4 separate regions of the Homo sapiens genome follow, and all the other regions are linked to region 4. The links are contacts of gene promoters, found by promoter capture Hi-C in human tissues and cell types (Jung and others, 2019). All regions are on one chromosome and are shown on one strand. Each heading gives the region's core, a stretch centred on a gene start or on the middle of the fragment in contact. The rest is flanking DNA. Distances are from core to core; before and after follow the strand shown. Region 1 has its middle 47 kb from the start of GPALPP1. Region 2 overlaps GPALPP1 (GPALPP motifs containing 1). Region 3 overlaps TPT1-AS1 (TPT1 antisense RNA 1). Region 4 holds the start of KCTD4 (potassium channel tetramerization domain containing 4).

Region 1 (3,049 bases), core at 21-2,520, 160 kb after region 4:
CCAGGAGTTTGAGACTAGCCTGGCAAACATGGTGAAAACCCCGTCTTTACTCACAGACAATAGCCTGGTGTGGTGGTGCATGCCTGTAGTCCCAGCTACTCAGGAGGCTGAGGCAGGAGAATCGCTTGAGCCTGGGAGGCAGAAGTTGCAGTGAGCCAAGATGTGTACCACTGCACTCCAGTCTGGGCAACAGAATGAGACTCTGTCTCCAAAAAAACAAAACAAAACAAAATCCTCTGGAAGGTTAGGGCATCTATGTTTGTAATAAGCTCCCAGGGGATTCTGATTCACATCAAAGTTGGAAAGACATCGATTTTGCTGACTAAATTGGTCATCATTTTTGTTCAACTATCACCTTCCATTCACCTAAGCCTAGATATTACTCAGTTCTGGTAAATACTCAATAAAGATGCAGCCCCACTGTGTGTTCACATAAGCTCACTGGAAAGACTATAAATGTGATTTTAAAAAGCTCTTTATGATTTGCTGGTAGAAAGAAATATTCTGAAACCATCTTTTCATGTCATTTTCTTAGAGGCAACACAGTATAATGGATTGATTAGCATCTTACAAACTGACAGGTTAAAAGATAGTTTTAAATCTTTATTGATAAACTGTCATTTGACTGCAAGCATTTTAAACTTTAAGAATCTCTGTTTTCAAATATGACAATTTTATTAAGCAATATACAAGGCTGTTAGGGAAAAACACTAATTTAAATTCAGTTAAAATGAATACTAAAGAATAAGCACAATTTCTAGATTTATTTGCTGGTCAATATTAAGTTAATTATGTCTGTACCTGTTATAAAAATTAGCAATCTTAGGCTGATGATAAATTGCTTTTGTTAAGTGTGTAGTGTGAATTAGGTATTATAGTATTATTTATCCTTAGGTTAGCAAAATGTGTTGCTTTCAGCCATTACCTAAAAAGACAAAAATCATCATATTATATACATAAGCAACTTCATTTGTTGTTTTGTACCTAGTGATAAAAAAGGAACAAGTTTATTTTCATCTCAGAGCTCTGATTGTATGAAGATAAAACTAGGACTAAATACTTTATCATATAGCCTGTTTGGCCAACATTACCCCATCATAAAGAAAACAAATGGAAGTGCTTTAAAGGGCAGGACAGCGGTAAGTAATCAGAGATATGAAAATGAACTTTGAAATACTTTTCAATATTCTTGAATAGGTTCTCGAAATTTGTCTAGATCTCAAAACAATGATGCACCCTTGTAGCTTTTATTGTCTTTCCTACCTAGTTCTGCAGAATTTTATTGCTTTCTTTTTTTCTCTTTTAGAGATGGGGTCTCTCTGTCTCCCTGGCTGGAGTGCAGTGGCATGTTCATAGCTCACTGCAGCCTTGAACTCTTGGGCTCAAGTGATCCTCCTGCCTTAGCTTCCTGAGTAGCTGGGACTACAGATGCATGCCATGCCACCATGCCCAGATAATTTTTAATTTTTATTTTTTTGTAGAGACAGGGTCATGCCACGTTGCCCAGGTTGGTCTTGAACTCCTGGCCCTCAAGTGATCCTCCTGTCTTGGCCTCTTGAAGTGCTGGGATTACAGATGTGAGGCATTGTGCCTGGCCTTTTGTTTCTTTTTAACATTCTTTTACCTACTGTTATCTTTTCTTTGTCAGCAAATACAGAAACTGGTATCTAAAAGTAAACTCAGTTGCTTCTGAAGTTAATACCTTAGCTGCCAAAGCACAGTTATCTAAGACCTCAAAGTAACATTAACTGGTTAATTCCCCCAAGGAAAATAGTCATAAGGTAGAGACCATCCTTTGCAGATCATCTATAGCCCACCAGTGCTCCCTTTTTGTGCTCCCTGCCTTTTCAATGTTCTGCATTCCTGAGGCATTCAGTCTTAAATGGCCCCAAGTCAGCCAGGGACAAGGAACTACAATCTGACTATTCCTCTTAGGGACTTATCTATTTTAAAAGGTGCTGAAGAGAGGGCAAAGTGCAATGAAACTGAATTATCAATGGCAGTAGAATCTTGATCACTGTAGCAACTGGCTGGTAGATGTTTGAAGGGTGAATGCTTTTAGGCATTCACTCAAGAGAAGTGACAATCCATTCTTCAAGAGGCAAGTATTGCTGGTGCTGGTGTTTGTTGCTATGCAAAGTAAAGTGATTATGTATTTAGGAATATATAATAGGAAAACAGAACATATAACAAAGGAGAGGGGATTGTTTATAGGAACACATGTAAGTGCGGTGGTTATTATTTTTTTAAATTTCTTTTTAGAGTCAGGGTTTCACCATGTTGGCCAGGGTAGCCTTGAACTCCTGGCCTCAAGCAATCCTCCCACCTTGGCCCTCCAAAGTGCTGAGATTACAGGTGTGAGCTACCTTGTCTGCCCATAAATGCAGTGGTTCTTAAACTTGAATTTACAAAGAATGGCCTGGGATAATTGTTAAAAGTGAAGATGCTCTGATTCTAACCCCAAAGATTCCTATTCAATAGGTTTGGGCCTGGAGATCTGCATTTAAATGAACTCCTAGGTGATTCTGATAGAAATAGTTTAAGGATTACAAATTAAGAGACAGACTGATCTACTGTATTTTTCAGTCCCTAAGTAAAAACATTCTGCTATGTCCAGAATTCTAGAGACTTGACTAATAATTGTTGAATTCATCTGGTGCTATTCAGTTCTTAAAAAGAATGTAAATAACCCTCAATAATTAGGCCCAGGAGGAAACAAGTAATTTACAACAACTTCTTAAAAAAACAGCTATTCTTAAATATTTATGGTTTTGATGATAAAGTATAGGCTCAATGTTCAGATCAATGTATTAATGTTCTGATAACTAATGACAGTTATTAGTGGAGTTACATACAGGGTGTTTGCAGAGCAAGGGCCTAAGAGTGAATTCAGACACATTTGGGCAATTCTGGAAGGCCAGCAGAGTAGACCTTTGGTGTAAGAACCATCTGGCCAACTCCAATGTCATGTTTATAACTTGGTTAAGAAGTATTCTCCATTGGAGGCCGGGGGCGGTGGCTCACGCCTGTAATCCCAGCACTTTGGGAG
Region 2 (2,961 bases), core at 329-2,828, 190 kb after region 4:
TGTTATTTTCCTAACAGAATCTCAGGTTTGTGAACAGCTTTTTATTTCATCTACTTATGTTACAATCTTAAATTAATCTGAATATAACTGAGTCTTACATTACAGTTGAGTCCAGTGGTTGTAGTAACTGCATGCATAAAGTTTGGAGTTTGTTACAATACATCTTATTCTTTCAATGAAAACTTTCCAAACCTTAGAGTTGAAATGGGATGATGATACCTGTTGTCCTGGATCATCTCTGCCCTTGTCACTTTTCTGTGTAGATTTAATGAAACCAGGTGGCAATGCAGGACCTATTATGGGCCTGAAAAATAAAATGTACTTTTATCATTCTCCCTGACTTTAAAAAGCAGTTATAAGAATAAAAGTTCACAAAAATAATAAAGCCAAATAGTGACAAATGTTGAAAATAAGAATTTTATTTAACACTTTATTTTTACTAGTATTACCTAGTATCTTTCTGCTAGACGTCTTTTAAAAACCTAATTTTCACATTTGACTTTTCTACTTGTTAGTCAATAATTAGAGACTAAGCCAATAATTCTCAATCTTTGTGACACTGGCATATGCACACTTCCTAAAAAGAACTATATTAAATAAAAATGGCAATGTTTTAAAAAAATTGATGTACTAAAATCTGTGATGGTCTTTTTTTATTTTGTGCCTTGGCTTTCCTTCAGTTTTGAGATTCATTATCCCGTGAAAGATACCTTAGGGGCATTATAATTATGGTCAGAACTACCAAAGTAGAAATTGAGTTCTTCTAAGGACATATATAGCATGTGCAGACAATGCCAGCAATCTGTGGTCTATATAACATGGCAGTATTAAAAATCTATACATTGTCCTCAGTAATGATGTGGAACTGTAGAAGAATGCAGCTAGTTCATTAAGACCCACAGAAAGGGAAAAGGGTACCGTGCTAACCATATTTCAAGCAGTGCATCTGTTTCCTTAAAACAATCCTGGTCAGTGTAAGTCACTCCACTTTTAAGATGAGCAAAATCATGTCCAAGATTAACACAATTAGTAAGTGGCTGAGCTAGAGTTTAAACCCTGGTCTACTTGATGTCAAAGTGCATTTTCTTTCCAGCTGCCCTACTGCCAAATAATGAGGCAACTGTCATCACTTCAAAAGAGAGACTTGCCTTAACACTGGGTCTTAAAAGGAGACAGCCTTACTTTATGAAGGAAAAAATTAAAAAGATAAAAATAAAAAATAAAAAAATGCTCTCTTTCACACTTTTAAGATTCTTCATCCTTGCTTTTGTACAAATGTTTTTTCCATAGTTGTCACTGTGCCAGTGTTACCAACCCAGATGGCACTGAAGTCCTAAGCTAAAATTTCCAGGTTGCACCATGTTCTATCAGAACCCCACAGACAGGCATCCTGGCAGGGGAAATAACAGTACTGACAGTCAGAAAGTCTGGGTTCCCATCCTGACCATTTAATAATCTCTTGTCTTGATTCATGAAACTTCTTTGAGCAGAACAATTTGCTTATGAAAGACAGGGAAGTTTGGCACTGTTAAAAAGATAAAATTAGGTATCATTTATAAGCTATGAGTACAGCATAGGTTTTTTCTGAGTACAATTTTTAGCAATCTACAAATGCAATTATAGCTTAACTTTCTGGCCTCAGGGGATTGGTGGTGATAAAATTACTGGTATATAAAATCATAAAACATAGTAAAGGAATAAAACCATGGCATGTTATGATACTATAAAAGGTTTCTAACTCCAATATATAATGCCAGCTGTTTATTTTACACATACATTTTATTATTGCCAAAATAATATTCTTAAGAATAAAATTGGTATACATTTAAGTAATATGTTTTCTTAAAAGGAATGTTACATCCTAGGGGTCAGCAAACTTTCTATAAAGGGCTAGATAGTAACTCTTAGGCTTTGAGAGCCACATGTGGGTCTCTGTGGCATATCTGTCTTTGTTTTTTCAGCTACTCTCAAAAATGCAAAAATCATTTTTAGTTTGGGGACTGTAGATTGCCTATCCCTGTATATCTGAAACAACTAAAGTTAATGGAAGTTAGGAGCTGCCAAATGTGATTATAAACTTTGAATATAAAATAAAAAGCCTTTTCTGCTTGTTCTTGCATATTGGTATACAGTATTATGAATTATAAACAATTTGATGTGCGATCTTATATTTGGCATTTAAAAATTTTACAATTCTGGGAAGAAGACAGGAATAAATATTTACTATATACTTACTCTGTGCCAGGCTCCATATAAATTAAACACCCACACACAAAGTCAAGGTATGTAACTATGAAACCTCAATCATCACAATTCTGTAAAGTACATGCTGTTATCCTAGCTTACAGATAACAAATTTAAGATTCAGAGAAGTTAGTCCAATTGTCTAACATGGCACATGGGGATGTGTTTCTTCTATTGATAAATAATTAAGAAAACAACTGAATTAAAAGTCACAACATCAAGATTCTAGCTCCAGGTCTGCTACTATGTGTGTGACCTTATCTGTTTATAAAGTGGGGAGAGGGGTGATCCACCTCGTTTACCACAAAACACTTTTGTGAATATCAAATAACAGATGTGGAAGTTTTTTGTAAACTATGAAAGTGTCATAAACATGTAAATAATTATTTTTATTGTAGGAAACAACTTCTTTTCCTGGTGAATGACCCATTTCAAAATGTTATATAAATATTTCAGTTAAAACATAATTTCAGACAATTCTTTAATTCATTAAAGATTCATTAGTTAAAATATTTAAAGAAAGACTGGCCTAAAATATTACACATTATCACCTTGGAGGAGAATCATCCTGCTTTTTAAATCCAGGAGGAAGGGCTGGTCCAAAAAACCCATCATCATCATCATCGTCATCATCCTGATTTTTCCTCTGTTTTCTGAAAACATAGTAGTATAACTTTATGCATATATGTCAAAATTTTTTTCACAAAAGCACATTTT
Region 3 (2,984 bases), core at 35-2,534, 150 kb before region 4:
CCCAGAATTAGCCACTGTTACCAGTTTGATGCATAACCTTCTAGATTCTCATGTTTGCTTTTGTAAATATATACACATAGGTAGAGCAGTCTATTGGTTTTTGTCATGTGTATCTGGGTGTTAAATGAAGGAGTGATGTTCTACAACTTGCTTTTATGATTTAACTATGTCTTAGGCCACTTTTCCTCCTCCCAGGGAAGAGCTCTTCTCTATGGTTTTGTTTTGTTTTTTTGTTTTTTTTTGAGACGGAGTCTTACTGTGTCACCCAGGCTGGAGTGCAGTGGCATGATCTTGGTTCACTGCAACCTCCACTTCCCAGGTTCAAGGGATTCTTGTGCCTCAGCCTCCCGAGTAGCTGGGATTACAGACCCATGCCACCAGGCTCAGCTAATTTTTTGTATTTTTAGTAGAGATAGGGTTTTGCCATGTCTCTACTCCTGACCTAGAGGCTGGTCTCAAACTCCTAACCTGAAGTGATTTGCCCACCCTGGCCTCCCAAAGTGCTGTGATTACAGGTATGAGCCACTGCACCCAGCCATAGGCACTGTTTAATGCACCGGGAATACAACTGTGAGCAAAAAAACTCTCTCAACCTCCATGGCACTTACATTGTCTGGAGGGGAGACAGAAAATAAAGTAAGTATAAGAAAATAACATGTTGGGGCTGGGCATGGTGGCTCACACCTGTAATGTCAGCACTTTGGGAGGCCGAGGTGGGCAGATCACCTGAGGTCGGGAGCTCAAGACCAACCTGACCAACATGGAGAAACCCCGTCTCCACTAAAAATACAAAATTAGCCGGGTGTGGTGGCACATGCCTCTAATCCCAGCTACTCAGGAGGCTGAGGCAGGAGAATCGCTTGAACCCAGGAGGTGGCGGTTTGGGTGAGCCAAGATTGTGCAATTGCACTCCAGCCTGGGTAATGAGCGAAACTCCATCTCAAAAAAAAAAAAAAAAAAAAAGAAAAGAAATAACATGTTGGTTAATTAGTCCCACAAATAAATATTAGGGATAAATGGGGCCGGGCACGGTGGCTCACGCCTGTAATCCCAGCACTTTGGGAGGCCGAGGCGGGTGGATCACGAGGTCAGGAGATCGAGACCATCCTGGCTAACATGGTGAAACCACGTTTCTACTAAAAACACAAAAAAATTAGCAGGGCGTGGTGGCGGGTGCCTGTAGTCCCAGCTACTCGGGAGCCTGAGGCAGAAGAATGGCGTGAATCTGGGAGGCGGAGCTTGCAGTGAGCCGAGATTGCCTCACTGCACTCCAGCCTGGGCGACAGTGCAAGACTCCGTCTCAAAATTAAAAAAAGAAAAAAAGAAAGAAAAACCAGGCGTGGTGGCTCATGCCTGTAATCTCAGCACTTTCAAAGGCCAAGGTGGGTGGATCACTTGAGGCCAGGAGTTCAAGACCAGCATGGCCAACATGGTGAAACCCTGACTTTACTAAAAATAGAAAAATTAGCCAGGCATGGTGGCACGTGTCTGTAGTCCCAGCTACTCGGGAGGCTGAGGAGGGAGGTGGAGGCTGCAGTGAGCTGTGATTGTGCCGCTTCACAGCCTGGGCAACAGAATGAGATCCCGTCTCAAAAGGAAAAAAAACAAAAACACAGGGATTTCCAAGAGGCAGGGATTGTAATTTTAAACATGATGGTCAAGGATAGCCTGTGGAGAGGGTGACAATTTGAGCGAAGTCTATGCCTTTTGTTTTTTTTTTTTGAGACGGGAGTCTTGCTCTGTCGCCCAGGCTGGAGTGCAGTGGCGCGATCTCAGCTCACTGCAAGCTCTGCTTCCCGGGTTCACGCCATTTTCCTGCCTCAGCCTCCCAAATAGCTGGGACTACAGGCGCCCGCCACCACGCCCGGCTAATTTTTTGTATTTTTTAGTAGAGGCGGGGTTTCACCATGTTGGCCAGGATGGTCTTGATCTTCTGACCTCGTGATCCACCCACCTCGGCCTCCTAAAGTGCTGGGATTACAGGCGTGAGCCACCACGCCGGGCCGCCTTTTGTTTCTATAGACAGTAGCTTCTTTTTCAGAGGGAGAGAAAACTGAGGTGTTTTCAACAATTTTTTTTTTCAGAGATGGGGTCTCGCTATGTTGCCCAGAGTGGTCTCAAACTCTGCCTCAAGTGAGCCTCCCACCTTGGCCTGCCTAGGCTGGAGTACAATGGCACTATCTAGGCTCACTGCAACCTCCACCTCCCGGGTTCAAGTGATTCTCCTGCCTCAGCCTCCCGAGTCGCTGGGATTACAGGCGCCTGCCATCACGTCCAGGTAATATTTGTATTTTTAATAGAGACAGGGTCTCACCATGTTGGCCAGGCTGGTCTTGAACTCCTGACCTCAGGTGATCCACCTGCCTCGGCCTCCCAAAGTGCTAGGATTACAGGCATGAGCCACCACGCCCAGCCGGCTTTTTTTTTTTTTTTAACTAGTCAAGGACAGTAGTGAAAAAGGGAGGGGAGAAAAATTTTCTGCAATTTCTTTTTTTTTTTTTTGAGACAGAGTCTCGCTCTGTCACCCAAGCTGGAGTGCAGTGGTGCAATCTCGACTCGCTGCAACCTCCACCTCCCAGGTTCAAGCAATTCTCAGGCCTCAACCACCCGAATAGCCGGAACTACAGCCGCCTACCACCATGCCTGGCTAATTTTATTATTTTTAGTAGAGACGAGGTTTCACCATGTTGGGCAGGCTGGTCTCAAACTCCTCACCTCAAGTGATCCGCCCAACTTCACTTCCCAAAGTGTTGGGATCACAGGTACGAGCCAGCTCACCCAGCCTGTTTTCAGCAATTTCTTTCCCGCCATGCAGCCCTCCTGCAGTTGCCTCAAGTTACTTTCAAGATGTGACTGTTGAGCAGTTTCCTGCTAATAGAGGGTCAGAATGATCACACTTCTCTCAGCCCCTACACAGCAAGCCAGATCTCCATTTGGCTGTTTTCTCTTTCTGGCAAAAATTGTTCAAATGAGCTAGAGTCAAA
Region 4 (2,977 bases), core at 87-2,586:
GAGTCTCGCTCTGTTGCCTAGACTGGAGTGCAGTGGCGCGATCTTGGCTCACCGCAACCTCCGCCTCCTGGGTTCAAGCGATTCTCCTGCCTCTGCCTCCTGGGTAGCTGGGATTACAGGTATGTGCCACTGCGCCAGGCTAATTTTTGTATTTTTAGTGGAGATGGGGTTTTGCCATGTTGGCCAGGCTGGTCTTGAACTCCTGACCTCTGGTGATCCGCCCACCTCAGCCTCCCAAAGTGCTAGGATTACAGGTGTGAGCCACCACGCCAGGCCAAGAAGAGTTTTGAAGAATAAGCAATGATTGTGCTGGACCTTGAAAAATGGGTAGGATTTAGACTGGGGTGGGTGGGGGTAAGAAGGAAGAGTACTGAAGGTGGTAGGAATGGCCTCTGTGTGTCTGTGCTTGCTCGCTCTTGTGCTTGAAATGTTCAACTAAGGGGCTCACACCACCAATTACTAGAAGGACATGGTCTTGCCAGCACTCTGCAGAGAAGCCACACAAACTCATCCTACCAAAGGCTTTGGAATGGCTCAATTCATATCTTTTCCTTGGCCATTTGCTCTTCTTTGGATTCTGGGAAATAGTATGGGATTCTTTCTAAATTCTCCCCCGCACTCCTTTTTTGGCTAGATTGGTTTGTTGACTGGTTTCTGCTACTTGCAACCAAAAGAATCTTATTGAGTATGAACACACATCTTTGATGATGGTAATTTATGTATATCCCACCACCTAAAATCAGAAAAAACTCGAGAGAAAATTTTAAAGGTTATGTATATAAAGCACATCCTATAAAAAGAACTGAAGGCTTCTAGTTAAGATTCTGTCACTAAACAGCAGTGTTACTTTGGAGAAGTTATTTTACATCTCTGGGCCTCAGCATCCATAATAATGATATTACTAGAATGTCTGAGATCTCTTCTAGGTCTCTTTCACTAAATAAAAATGCTAGCCTTCCTCTCCAACTGGGGATGTTTTATTATTTCATTAGTGTTATTTTGTTTGCTCTAGTACTTTCCAAAAGACCTAGATATAATTAAATTTTCTTTGAATAGAAAGAGAATAACAAAATGTTAAGAAGCTGCCCAAGGCTTGAAAATATTTAAATTTGTGCTCTATGCTGGATTATCCTGCCCTATATCTGAACTTGACATACACTCTATGTCAAAGAACTGAGGAGAAATGATACTGGCACTTTTTTTAAAAAGTTAAGGGCATCCCTAGTTTGAAGAAGTTAAAGGAATAAGCAAGCAGCAACACTGCTTATTAGCATTGGCATGTAAGTAATGAAATCAAGTATGTTAGGAAGTCTTAGGCATCAGGAAGTTACACTCATTCATTTCCACAAGACCTTCTGGATCCAGCTGAATGTGGAGGCCTTTAAGAGAACTTCCAGCTCCTGTAAAAACCCAGACCAGAGGACTACTGACCAACATTTCAGGCTGATCCTCCAGACCTCGAAGTTACTCTCCTTACTCTCCTGACTCTTAATTACATCACACCTGTGTCGACACTCTCTGGGAAAAGACTGAAGAAATAATCTTTTCAAGAAGCAGGTACATTTAAAAGGCAAACCATTTTTAATATTCCTAGTAGTCTCCTTTCTTCTCATTTAAAATATGTTCCTAGAAGTTTTTTTGCCTGTGGTTCTGAGTTGAGGTCTACTAATAAAAGGTACTAGCATCTTAACAAACCAGTTAGGCAAACTTTCTATCCCTGTATTATTAAAAAGCTGCTCTTTACTTGTGAAGTAATATTCTGATCTCTATTTGATCTTCAGGAATTTTGCCACGCATGGTGGCTCACATCTGTAATCCCAACACTTTGGGAGGCTGAGGCAGCAGCATAGCTTGAGCCCAGCCTGGGCAACAAAGTGAGACCCAGTCTCCACAAAAAGATAAAAAAGTTAGCCAGGTATGGTGGGGTATGCCTGTGGCCCCAACTATACGGGAGTTTCCTAAGGCAGGAAGATCACCTGAGCCCAGGAGGTTGAGGTTGCAATACACTCCAGCCTGGGTGACAGAGCAAGACCCTGTATCAAAAAATAAAATTTAATTTTATAAAAGTTATAAAATAATTTGCCTAATTTTAACATCAAGCAGCCACATTGTTTTGTCTCTCCCTCTCTCTCTCATCTCCCTGCAAAATTCTTTCCCTCCTCCCTGTCTGTTAATTTTACTTTCTTGTGATACGGAGGGAATAGCTCACAGAGCTGCTCAAATATTTCATCAACTATAAGATGCTATCATTTGTAATAGCAACCATTATTTTACGTGCCACCAAGACAAAATACTGCTGCTAAACTTTGACAAGCTAACGATATTAAGATGTACCTCAGTTATAGAAATGGTAAATATGAAAAAAATGTGTGATATGATAGAGTTCTCCATCCCTAGTTTATAACTCCTCCCTACTCTGTAAGAAACCACATTTGCTCCCTTGAGCCATCACATCCTGTTCTCCTGTTCAGATCCTCTTCTCTCTTCTCCACACCACCTCATCACTGAAGACACAAGCAGATGTTAAGTGATGAGAAAATCAGAAGGAACAGTGGCAGGCGCTAGTATACGGTAACAGAGACCCTCTTTAGTCATTTACTTCCTAACTGTACTACCTTTACAAGAGTTTTCAAAGTTATGCCCTTCATTTTGAGATTGTAGATAATGGTTATTAGCTTAAAATATCTTCTTCCCAAAGAGAAAGTAAAATTGCATTTTGCCAAATAGCACTATAAAAATGAGTTCTGTACAATATTATAATTTTAATGTTCATTTGATGGCTTACATAAGTGCTATGCTCATCTGGTTACAATAGAATTTTCCAGTAAATAATAACGCACAGGTTATATTTCAAAAAAAAACTTCATTTTTAAAAAACTTAAGGTATGACTTCTGCTTACAAAATTATAAAACACAGGTTTCCCTGAAATACTCATTTTCCAAAGTACATGTAAAACATGAATTAATATGACTTATA

What was found. The method cuts DNA at HindIII sites, captures the fragments that hold promoters and counts their contacts. A contact is called where the count stands out against the background at its distance.
Region 1: a contact is called between a fragment that was not itself captured here and the fragment with the promoter of KCTD4 in region 4, in 5 of the 25 tissues and cell types used here (dorsolateral prefrontal cortex, hippocampus, mesendoderm cells and 2 more).
Region 2: a fragment that was not itself captured here is called in contact with the fragment with the promoter of KCTD4 in region 4 in 4 of the 25 tissues and cell types used here (IMR-90 fibroblasts, aorta, bladder and 1 more).
Region 3: a contact is called between a fragment that was not itself captured here and the fragment with the promoter of KCTD4 in region 4, in 1 of the 25 tissues and cell types used here (hippocampus).

The regions. Positions count from the first base shown.
Region 1 is chr13:45,035,211-45,038,259 of GRCh38, reverse strand. It overlaps a transcript of GPALPP1 not described here. Among named protein-coding and RNA genes, the nearest start is that of GPALPP1, 47 kb to the right of the region's middle. The HindIII fragment of the contact is 4,747 bases long and covers 1-3,049 here.
Region 2 is chr13:45,006,138-45,009,098 of GRCh38, reverse strand. It overlaps GPALPP1 (GPALPP motifs containing 1), which reads right to left. Exons shown (of 8, transcript NM_018559.5): 3 at 2,796-2,897; 4 at 220-304. Among named protein-coding and RNA genes, the nearest start is that of GPALPP1, 18 kb to the right of the region's middle. The HindIII fragment of the contact is 5,478 bases long and covers 1-2,961 here.
Region 3 is chr13:45,344,641-45,347,624 of GRCh38, reverse strand. The region is part of intron 3 of TPT1-AS1 (TPT1 antisense RNA 1); the gene reads right to left. Among named protein-coding and RNA genes, the nearest start is that of TPT1-AS1, 4.8 kb to the right of the region's middle. The HindIII fragment of the contact is 8,275 bases long and covers 1-2,984 here.
Region 4 is chr13:45,199,404-45,202,380 of GRCh38, reverse strand. It overlaps KCTD4 (potassium channel tetramerization domain containing 4), which reads left to right and starts at 1,336. Exons shown (of 2, transcript NM_198404.3): 1 at 1,336-1,557. The region is part of intron 4 of GTF2F2 (general transcription factor IIF subunit 2); the gene reads right to left. The HindIII fragment of the contact is 9,631 bases long and covers 1-2,977 here.